Linked DNA regions of Homo sapiens: all the other regions are linked to region 1. Evidence: promoter capture Hi-C in human tissues and cell types (Jung and others, 2019). All regions are on one chromosome and are shown on one strand. Each heading gives the region's core, a stretch centred on a gene start or on the middle of the fragment in contact. The rest is flanking DNA. Distances are from core to core; before and after follow the strand shown.

Region 1 (2,709 bases), core at 39-2,538:
ACGATCTAAGGAAGAAAATAAAAAGCATTACTTTTTGGCAACAGCTAAATAAAAAAGCAAATTACCATCACCCCCTATTCCCCAAACTCCATCACCTACCTGCCCAACACTCTGTAGGGCCTTCAGATCATTTTCAGACTTTTCATACTGCTTGGTAAGTTCTTTTAATTGTTCCCTTACTGAAATAATACAATTTGAACATTTTTAATTGAACAGTAATCTTAGTGTGTTTAAGTCGCTACGTCTCACTTTACTGTTTACGTAAGTCTACTTCACTTTACCTAAGTTTCACATCCACTGTTTCAAACCATAAAAGAAATAATGCTGTTTGTAATGAGTAGGTGGCATGTATAACAACAAAATGTTACAGAGAAAGCACCATACTTTTACTTTGTTGATCGGCAATACTTGTTTAAGCACATCTTAAGTTATAGTCTTAGAAGATATTGACACCCTGACACTTAGGATTTGCGACTACAAATCCGAATGATAATCACTTAGACCCTTCCTCACCTCTTCACCTACCCACGTGGATTGTTCTCTGACATTCTACCCTAAATAAAGTCAACAAATGCAGTTCTCCACAGAATCATGTAATTATGGTCCTCCATTTAATTAAACTACTCATGCTTTTCAATGAAAATGCACTGGAAAAAAAAGTTAAGCACTCAGGAGGTAAGGGAAATTTGTATGCCTGATACAGTACAACACGAAACACAAGACGATATGGGTTATTATGACAACTGGAACACTTCTCTCTTAAGCTCCGCGGCCGTCTTTCGACTCCAAGAACAAGCCGACTCCCTGAGTCTCATCTCTTGTTTGAGCTTACTTGACTCAAGCGCCTTCCCCTCTCCAAGTCCCGGGACTCCACCAAGACTGCCCTTCTTGCACCCTAACCTGGGAAACATCCTCGGCCCACTTCCCCACTCCTCCTCTACTTCTTTTTCATTTTCACCTCAAGGCCGCCGATGTTCTGTCACCCGGGCTGGACTGGGCCATTTCTACACCCGAAGGAGTGCTGCTCCACAAGCTCAGGGCCGGATGACAAAGCGCCTTGTCCCTGGCCCTAGGCCTGGTCATCTCTAAGGCTCGGTTGCCGGGCTCGGCGAAAGGCTTCTGCTTTGTCAGAGGCAGAAGCGAGTCGAGGCACTTGATTAAATGGAAAGAAAGGTGCACTCACACTCCTTAAGACGGCCGTCGATCTCCTTGTGTTCAAGCAACTTCTTGCGGTAGTCCTGAAGCGCCTTATCTCTAGGGTCCGCCATGATGAGAAGCCGTCTCTCATAGGGGATGCCGGGAATGGCCATGGCCGTCCGGGCGGGGGAAGGGGCGGGGCGAGGGGCGAAACCCTGCCTGGAGGGGTGGGTTCGCCCATGAGCCCTCCCCTTCCGGTTGGCCCCGTCTTTCTACTCCACTTCCACCTCTATGTCTCGGTTCACCTAGAGCGCCGGCATACACTGAAAGAGGCCTCCACCTATACCGTTTCTTGCAAGCCGAGATAGGTAAAGCAGGACTCAGTTATCCCGGTCTTCCCCTGAGAGGCCTCAGTATTAAGTCACTGCTGTCCCGGAAGTATAAAAGGCTCTGTAATAAACTGAGATGGAAGTGAAGTAGGAAATGTGTAATACCTCAAAGGAGTTCCGATGGCCTGTCGACACAACACAGATGGCCTTTGTTATAACACAGTACTGTCCAAGACCTCCACGTGCTGGAGAAGTAGACAGTTTTATTCATCCATTCAGTCAGTGAATGAGGTATTAAAGGTAGATCTGCTTATCATTTGATAGGAAATAATAATAAAAAAAACTTCAGAGTTTAACAAATACTGTGAAGGAATTAAAACACGGTGAGAAGTATGGTGGGAAGAATTAATCTAGAACAGATATCTGAGATGAGAAGGAGCCAGCCTTGCAACAACTGAAGAAAACCTAAACAAACAGTGCAAGTCCTGGAGTGGAGTGGGGTGGGGGTTGTGGGTAGAAAGCTTGACTCACTTCCAGGAACAGAAAGGAGGCCAATGAGACCAGTAGGGGGTGGGTTGTAGAGATGTGGGGTACAAGATAAAGATGCTGAAGTAGGCTGAGGCAGGAACTTTGAAGTCTGATAGAACCTTCAGATTTATGTATTTATTTATTTACTTTTGAGATGGAGTCTTGCTCCTGCCGCACAGGCTGGAGCGGTGACGCGATCTCAGCTCACTGCAACCTCCACCTCCCGGGTTCAAGCAATTCTCCTTCCTCAGCCTCCGGAGTAGCTGGCATTACAGGTGTGCGCCACCACAACCGGCTAATTTTTGTATTTTTAGTAGAGACGGGGTTTCGCCATGTTGGCCATGCTGGTCTCGAACTGCTGACTTCAGGTGATCCACCCTCCTCAGCCTCCCAAAGTGCTAGGATTACAGGTGTGAGGCACTGCGCCCGGCCAGATTTTTTTTTTTTTTTTTTTTTTTTTGAGTCTGTGTCTCACTCTGTCACCCAGGCTGCAGTGTAGTGGTGCGATCTTGGCTCACTGCAACCTCTGCCTCCCGGGTTCAAGCGATTGTCGTGCCTCACCCTCCTGAGAAGCTGGGATTACAGGCGCCCGCCACCACGCCCGGCTCATTTTTGTATTTTCAGTAGGAATGGGGTTTCACCATGTTGGCCAGGCTGGTCTCCAACTACTGACCTCAAGTGATCCGCCCGCCTCAGCCTCCCAAAGTGTTGGGAT
Region 2 (3,004 bases), core at 273-2,772, 300 kb before region 1:
GGACTCCAGATAATATTCAGCTCCTACAGCTCCCACAAATGCAGCAAATCCCCACTTGAATCCTTTTAATAATGCACCAATAAAGGAACCACTATTTGCAAAGCCACCCATGTATCTCCAAGCTTCACCTTGACCCCATGGATCCCTTAGCCCTTGCGCAGCCAACTTCTTCTTGACAGTTTCTAATGGTGTCCCTTCTATCTTCCATTGTTTATAATCTGGAAGTTCCATTTTACTACGTCCATGTTCATGAGCCATGTCTGACGGCATTCTGACCTCTCAGGACACTCAACTCTGCAACCGGAGCCAACCCGGGTGTGTTTTCTTATATGTAAGTTTACATCGATAAAGTTTATTTAAAAGGTTTTTAAAATTATGCCCAATTGGAGTCTTTATAGAGGATCAGGAAAGAAGTGAAGGTGAGAAGGCACAGCTTACCCTCCCCCATCTCCATTGAATTAACAATGGACAGCAAGACACTAATTTCTTTTACCTAAAGACCTTCAACATAGGGTCTCATAGCTTTAAGGGTCAGGGAAGAACACAGCTGTCATAAGAGTAGATGTCAATTGACCTGAATATAAACATAAATTGTGTACAGCTGAAGGTGGTGAGGAGGCAGAACAAGCTGACAAAATCATTCCAGTGACGTAAAGGTAAACTAACACTTGAGACGAACAATACTTCTAGATGACACCCCCATTTCTGCTTTCCAGAGTGGCTTTAACCCAGTCCTTCATGGACACATGGAGATGGTCTCCAGATGGGGTGTGGTGCCTCTGGGTCTGTGAATGGAACCTCATGGGGGCTGGGACAACCCACAGTTGACTCAGCTTCCACGGAGGCGTCCCCTAGCTCTGCTCCAGTTACAAGCAGGCCCAAGCGAGGGAGTGGCTGGCTGGGGTTCTTCCAGCACAAAACCTTTTCAGTTTTCCTAACAATTTCCCGCCTCATGTCTGCAATGTTTTGGCAGCTGCAGGGCCTCTTTTTCTCCTCCCTTTCAACTTGCATGGTTCTTTGAGCCACAAGGGAGACCCAAAACCCTGAAGAACATCCCGGAATGCAAAGCATTTGCAATGAGTCACAGCTGCAGAGGTGCCAGGCTTAAGAGCTGTTCCAGGCTTAAGTAAGACAGGGAAGCGGGGAGAGAGGTCAGGGTTCTCAGCTGCAGAGTTTACGTCAAAGGCTGGACCCAGGAAAGAGGAGCAGCAGCACTGGCTGGAACAAGGAAAGAAAACAATGAGAAATAGATGCATGGGGACCACTCCTCTGAAGTTTCCCCACCTGCTTTACATGGGGCTGTCAGCCCTACCAGCCATTCTCTAAATTCTAAAAATTCTCACAGGAATAAGAACTTTCTGGATGACAGAGGAGTGTAAGTTGGCATTTGGAAAATGATCCCTGACAGTCTTCTAACCAACAATCATAAAGGGCTGAGCCCACTGAGCTTTGCAACACACTATTTTAAGCTGTACTTTAAAAATGCAGTGGGCGTTCTCTTCTTTTGCTCCCACAGAGGGGCATTCACTGGCTCTTTCTTGCCTAAAAAACACGCCTCCCTTTTAAGTCCTGGAGAGAGCCTTTGGGTGTCAAAACATTGCTTCCTTTTCATTTTTGTATTAACAATAGTGAATAGAGAATATATTCATAATATTCACCCAAAATATTCAAAAAACTATAAAATAAGAAGTGTCTAACTTCTGTTTTCCCCAGCCACCTAGTTCTTCCTGGAAGCAAGTTTCTTGTGTATTTTCCCAGAAATATTCTTTGCATATATAAGCACGTCTGGTATATGTAATTGTTTTTGTACAAATGGCATACATTACACAATATTCTCTTTGTTTTTCTAAACAACCTTGAAAACTGCTTCATGTCAGTACAAACAGAACTGCCTTATTTGTTCATTTTCACTAGATAAACAGTACCCTGTTTATATACATGTTGGTTATTTTCCATCTTTCCCTATTACAAACTGTGCTTCAGTGACAATCTTTTAAAATATATCATGTGTGGGTAAAATTTCTAGAGGTGAGATTTCTATGTCAAATTTGGATACTTTGATAGATATTTCGTCAAATTGCCCTTCATGGAGATTGTACCAATTTATACGCACAGGTATGAGAGTACCTGTTTCCGGTCCAGTGTGGCGGCTCACGCCTGTCATCCCAGCACTTTGGGAGGCTGAGGCAGGCAGATCGCCTGAAGTCAGGTTCGAAACCAATCTGGCTATGGTGAAAACTTGTCTCTACTAATACAAAAAAAAAAAAATTAGCCGGGTGTGGTGGCATGCACCTGTAGTGCCAGCTACTCTGGAGGCTGAGGCAGGAGAATCACTTGAACCTGGGAGGTGGAGGTTGCAGTGAGCCGAGATCACACCACTGCACTCCAACCTAGGTGAGAGAGTGAGACTGTGTCTCAAAAAAAAGAAAAAGAGAGGGCCTGTTTCCCCATCCCTTAGCACAGAATATTCCAACTTTTTTACCAATCCCAATTGATAGGTTAAAAAATAATACCTTATCATTTTAATTTGGTTTCATCTTTATCCAATGTCAAGCATCTTTGCCTATGTTTGAGAGCCACTTGCATGTTCTGTTCTGTGAACCATGTTCTCTGCCTGTTTTCTATCACATTGCTGTTTGTTTTGACTTGTTGAACTCTACATATCAGGGGAAATCACGTTTTGTCAATGTACATGTAGGACGGTTTTTCCCCAGTTTGTTTCTTCTTCCCTCCATACTTCTACTGTTTGTTTTATACAGAATTCTAGTTTTATGTTTTTGAACTTACCTTTTCATTTTTGGCCTCTAGAAAGTTTATCATTTAGATAGTATTTCCCTTGAAATTATGAAAAATTCTCGCGATATATTCAACTCAAAGATTTATTATTTTGTGCTCAGCATTTATATCTGTGATCCAGCCAGAATTTATTGTAGTGATGAGATAAGTAGGGCTCCACTGATATCTTTTTCCAGCTGGCTCTCTGGTAGATTCAACACCATTTATT
Region 3 (2,770 bases), core at 91-2,590, 260 kb before region 1:
CTTTCTGACTTCTTCTCTAGCCTCTCAAATGATGGGAAAGACTTGAGCACATTTAAGTGCAGATAAGAAGCCTCTGGGTCAAGGAGAGAGTTTAAAGATGCAGGAGAAAACACTGGAGAATCTATTGAGAATAGGAGGAAATGGGATGTGGGCACAGATGGATTAATCTTTGATAAGAACATGAACACCTCTTCTGCCTAATGGCAGGGAAGGAAGAGAGACCATCTTGTGTAGATTTTGACAGTCCGGAAGGTTTGGTAGAGTAAATCAAGGGAGTTATTCCCTTGGCTCCAATTTCAATGGGAAATAGGAGATGAAGTCATAGGAGAATGAGGAGTGAGGCTAGGTTGCAAAGGGCCAGGGTTGACTAATCAAAGATAGTAGACAAGATTGAAGGACAGTGTCTATGACAAAGATAAGGACAGGATCTATGCATATTGATATATTTGGTTACAGCTCAAAGATCAGAGCACACTACTAAAAAAGCATGTGGGGCTGAGAAACTCATCAATATTTATATGTCGTGCTGATGCTCTTGGTTCTAATAGTCTTTACGAGTTTAAGTTTCTTAGTGGCACAGAATCCAAGATATGCACCCTTTCATTCTTTCATTCATTCATCAAATTCTTGTTGAGCACCAGTCATGTGCCAGGTACTATGCTAGGTGCTTGGGAGATATGGCTGTGAACAAAGTAGAACAAGGCTGGGAGCCTTAGGGACCTCTATTCACATGATCATGACATGAATTGTGCCCACGGAGCTGGAATGGTGCCAGTGCATGGAATTGGAAAGTCTCTCCCTTCAAGGGGCTCTTATAATGGTAGAAAAGAAGGCTGGCTGGGATGAAGACAAATATGCTGTATTAGTCCGTTTTCACACTGCTATAAAGAAATACTTGAGACTGGGTAATTTATAAAGAAAAGAGCTTCAATTAATTCATAGTTCCACATGGCTGGGAAGCCTCAGGAAACTTAAAATCATGGCAGAAGGGGAAGCAAATACATCCTTCTTCACATGGTGTCAGGAGAGAGAGTGAGTGCAAGCAGGGGAAATGCCAGGCACTTATAATACCATCAGATCTCATGAAAACTCATTCCCCATCACGAGAACAGCATGGGGAAAACTGCCCCCTTGATCCAATCACTTCCCTCCCTGGACACATGGGGATTACAATTTCAGATGAGATTTGGGTGGGGACACAGAGCCAAACAATATCATAAGCTAACAAACAAATGTGATAATTTTGAATTCTTGGTAAGTTTTATAGGAGAACAAAAGCAAATGAGGAAATAGAAAGTAATGGGGTGGTGGGGATGCAGTGTGGTAAAGGCTACTACAGACTGCCTGGCCAGGAAAAGCCTTGCTGAGGGATGATACTGGGGCTGAGAAACATAGAGCCACAAGAAGAGGCAGGGAAAAGCCTGGGGGCCAAGGGAATGGTATGTGCTAAGATAGAAAAGTAAGGAGTCCTGAATGACTGGATACAGTGAGCAAGAGGTCAGCAAGGTAGACGGTCCAGATCCTGTGAGGCCTTTCAAGCCATGATAAGGAGTTTGGATTCTATTCTAAGTGTGATGGAAAGCTACTGATGTTATTAAGAGAAGAGTAAATGTTGTGATTTACAGATTTAAAGGATCACTCTGGCTGCTGTGTAGTGAAATGGATTGGAAGGGGAAAGATCAGAGAGGCCACTTAGGAGGCTACTGAATAAATAATATAAGTGAGAAGACAGTAGCTAAGATTAGGGTGGGGTGGTGGAGGTGGAGAAAAGTGGAACAATTTGGGATCTGTTTTAGAGACAGACCAACAGGATGTAGTGTTAAACTAGTCATTGCAGACTGGCAGTAAAGGAAAGTGGAAAATCAAGGTTGACTCCTAGTTTGTAAGTTGAGCAAATGGGTTGAATGGTGATATTATCTGATGGGATGAAAAATACTGGGGCAGAAGTAGATATTGGAGGAAAAGTCCAGAGTCTCACACTGCACATTTTAGTTTGAAGTGCCTACTACACATGGATCTACAGGTCTGGAGCTTCAAGCACAGGTCTGGGCTAGAGGTTTGGAAATCATCAACAGAGAGATAGTATTTTAAGCCTCAAGGTATGAGGAGATCAGCTGGAGAGAGAATGTATGTAGAGAAGAAAAGAGGTACTATAGCATGCTGACTTCAGAGATCAGCTAGAGGATGAGCCAGCAAGAAAGCAAGGAAGTCTGAAAAATGAGAAAAGAGAGGTAGAGGAAAAGCTCAAAGACGGCAATGTCCAGACTCCAAGAGGAGTGTGTGTTCAGAAAGAGAGAGTGGGCAAGCGGCTGAGAGAATTCGAAGAAAAGGATGGAAAGGGCACCATTTCTTATGCCACATGAGGATTATTGGTGACATTAAAAAACTGACTCAGTGGACTGATAGAAACAGAGGTATTGGGGAGGAAAAATAATTTTCCCTCAACCCCTCGTAGTTCTTAGCTGGGATGCCTATAACAAAAGACAGATTAACAAAAGAAAAACAAACAATTTAATTAATGCATACAGCACACATCATCTGGGAGAAATTTCAATGAAAAGTAACTCAGATCAATGGCTTATACAGCATATACAGCATCTTCAACAAAGAACAATACATTTGTAGAGAACAGACAAAGAAAAGCAATTTTAGACTTCTAAGGAAAGTTAAATATATTGGAGGAAACTAACAGATAAAATTTGTTTGCAAATCACTCTGGTGCCATGTTTGGGTTGGTAAGAGTCTAGAGTGGTCTCCAGCAAAGGAGAAT
Region 4 (2,989 bases), core at 140-2,639, 300 kb after region 1:
ACATATGTAACTAACCTGCACATCGTGCACATGTACCCTAAAACTTAAAGTATAATAAAAAAATTACCTAATAAATAAAAAAAACCACAGTAACTGTTTTCAAAGTGACTCATGGCCCAAGTTTTGGACAGAAATATGTTTTTAACATGTTACATTATTCAGTTATTTTGACTTTATGTTGCACCCAGAATTTTAATCCACTCAATATGAATGTGGAATATAATAAAACAATAGCTTTTTATTAATTAAGAAAAAAGTACCACAAGAAACTTTGTCAAATGTTTTATAAAAATCAAGACACAGTATATGTAAGATATTCTATTAGTTTATGAATTATTTTAAAATATGTTTACAAGTGACTATTTTTAAAAATAATCAAGTTTTCAGTTTTCAGAACTATGGTGAGTTCTTAGTCTATGCTGGTTCCCATTGATTTCTAAATCCTCTCAAGGAGAATGGGCATTATCTCACACTACTAGACTGGTCCTCAAAATAGGTAGGTGAAGGAAGAAGGGCTTGGAAAGATTAAAAAACAATAGCCTACAACTCTTAGAGAGATATAACCTGCAGGCCTATTTTTCAGATGTGGAAACTAAATTTCAAAGAATTGAATTGACTTTGCTAAAGTCACCCAGGAAATGGATAACTGAAGATTCATATCTAGCTCTTCTGTCTCCAAGTTCATTTTTCACATTAACCTGCACATTCTCTTGATCTCAGTCCTCTACATTCAATTCCTGTGATGAGTTCCAGCTCTCTTAGGGTCACGAGCAAATCTCAAAATGGGGTAAATGCAGCCACAGACAGAAAAATGGAGCATCTTTATAAAGCATCACCTTTTATCTGAGGACAGATAGCATTCTTTTTTATTGACATAAAACACAAAGCTATCTTGGAGAGTAATGTAAAATTCACATTAAAGATGAAACACGAGATTTTAAAGCTATCTTATGTATGTTTTGACCCTCTCTGGATTATACTATCAAGTCCTCAAGGCCTGTGGCAGAGCTAGCTATAGTAGTGGTAGCTTTGGTGTTTGAGGCAAGGGCATGCACAGGGTGCCCACAGAGCTGGGGTCTGGAGTGCATTCACACATGAAGCAGCTGCAGCTCCAGGGTCTGGGTCACATGCAGGGTTGGGAGGGTTGGCAGTGGTTCCCCCTTGGAAGGAAATAGGAAGTACAGCAGCAGCTCCTTCTCTTGGGGGTCTTCTGCAGCAGGATGGCATTGGTTACCTTGGTGGTGAGATATGCCAGTGTCCTCTGGAGAACAGAGGACTGTGGTGACACCCACCATGTGACTGAGACTGGCAGCCCCCACCCTTCTTCTTTGTTCTTAGGCATCTCCAGATGTCTTGGATGGGCTGATCTCCCCAGTGATCCTTTCTGTGGGGTTATGCTTTTCCGTTTTGCTCTACTGCATTCTGCAGATTCTTAATTGGACCCTTAAGTCCTCTCAAAGCTATTTTCATTTATGGATATCTGCCTATTTGTTAGTTTTTGTGGGGAGATAGAGGTTGGCATCTCCTACTCCATCATCTGGCTGATGTCACTCTCCTGTACCATTTTGAACATAACTAACTTTGTACATTAACATTTATTCAACATTGAACACATTTATTGAGCACCTACTTTGTGTCAGGCATAGTACTAAGCTCTGGGATTACTGTGGTAATTAAGACGGACACAGTTTTTGCCCTTATTGAACTAACATTCTAGAAAGACAAAAACAAAAACAACCAAATGACAAAAAAACTGCAGGGTGTAATCAGTGCTATGAAGGCAATAATGGGCCTGAGATAGAGAATAAAGTTGGGAGAGGTCAGATGGCAGAATGAAAACACTTTAGTTCACATGGTTTGGTGTTGTCTTTACTGCGGAGACATTTCACATGAAAATCGAAGAATGAATAGATAGGTGAAAGGTATGTGAGTACACTCCCCAAAAGAGAAGTAGCAGATATAGAGACCTTGAGGCAGGAAAGAACTTTGAGGGCTGAGACAACGAGAGAAGCCCAGTGTCATTGAAAAAAGGTGAATGAGTGAGTGGCAATGGCATCAGGTGAGATGGATGAGGTGGACAGGGCTGGATTGCACAGGGCCTTAGGAGTCATGGAAAAGAAGCTTAGATGTTATTCTAAGGACAATGAAAAGCCATTAAAGGATGTTAAGCAGGGAAGTGGCAAGATCTGATTTACTGTCAAAGAAGGACACTCTCACCTTGGTGAGGAAAAGAGTTCCATGGAGGAACAAGGGTAGAAGCAGAAGCCATTGGGAAGTTACTACAGTTTTGCAGGTGAGAAATGATGGGTGTTTAGGCCAGGTTGGTAGTCAAGGCAGACAAAAATGGATGGACTGGGTTAAGTGCTAGTGGGATGAACATGGAGGGTGAGGGAAAGAGAGGATGAAGCTTTACTAAACTTTTTGACTTGAGTCAAGTGTAATTGAATGTGGGGATTGGGAAGTTGTTTGTGGTAGAAATTCTTTTTTGAACATGTTAGGTTTGAAATATTTGTAGTCTATTCAAATAAAGATATCAGGTTGCCAGATGCCAAGCTTACTAGTGTAGAGCTCAGAGGAAAGGGTCCCAATTAGAAATATCATTTTGGGAGTCATCAGTATAATACTGTATCATAAGCAGTATTTAAAACTCTGGGCATAGATGAGATCATGTAGAAAAGAATTCAAAGAGAAAGAGAAGTGTATCTCTGGAAGAAATCTCTGAGAAACACTGATGTTTAGAGATTGGGTTGGGATGAGGAATCTTGCATGGAGCCTGAGAAACAAATGAACCTGAGAGGTGTGAGAAAAACCAGGAAGCTCCCAAGACAGAACAATGTTAAGTATTCAAAATTAGGACAAGTAACTTAATCTTTCTGTGCCTCCATTTCCTCATCTCTAGAAATAGAATAGTTTATTAGTTTTTTATTGCTGCTGTAACAAATTACCACAAACTTAGTGGCTTTAAGCAAAAAAAAAATGCATGATCTTA

The links. Contacts are between HindIII fragments. The study calls those that stand out against the background at their distance.
Region 2: a fragment that was not itself captured here is called in contact with the fragment with the promoter of PSMC6 in region 1 in 2 of the 25 tissues and cell types used here (mesendoderm cells and thymus).
Region 3: a contact is called between a fragment that was not itself captured here and the fragment with the promoter of PSMC6 in region 1, in 1 of the 25 tissues and cell types used here (mesendoderm cells).
Region 4: a contact is called between a fragment that was not itself captured here and the fragment with the promoter of PSMC6 in region 1, in 1 of the 25 tissues and cell types used here (liver).

The regions. Positions count from the first base shown.
Region 1 is chr14:52,705,779-52,708,487 of GRCh38, reverse strand. PSMC6 (proteasome 26S subunit, ATPase 6) reads right to left here and starts at 1,288. Exons shown (of 14, transcript NM_002806.5): 1 at 1,184-1,288; 2 at 100-179; 3 at 1-5. The coding sequence starts at 1,268. RefSeq lists enhancers at 928-977, 998-1,247, 1,548-1,607, 1,628-1,737. The HindIII fragment of the contact is 7,628 bases long and covers 1-2,709 here.
Region 2 is chr14:53,009,237-53,012,240 of GRCh38, reverse strand. It overlaps the pseudogene NDUFB3P3. Among named protein-coding and RNA genes, the nearest start is that of FERMT2, 60 kb to the right of the region's middle. The HindIII fragment of the contact is 6,678 bases long and covers 1-3,004 here.
Region 3 is chr14:52,962,656-52,965,425 of GRCh38, reverse strand. No RefSeq gene overlaps it. Among named protein-coding and RNA genes, the nearest start is that of FERMT2, 13 kb to the right of the region's middle. The HindIII fragment of the contact is 4,794 bases long and covers 1-2,770 here.
Region 4 is chr14:52,403,776-52,406,764 of GRCh38, reverse strand. No RefSeq gene overlaps it. Among named protein-coding and RNA genes, the nearest start is that of PTGER2, 91 kb to the right of the region's middle. The HindIII fragment of the contact is 6,411 bases long and covers 1-2,989 here.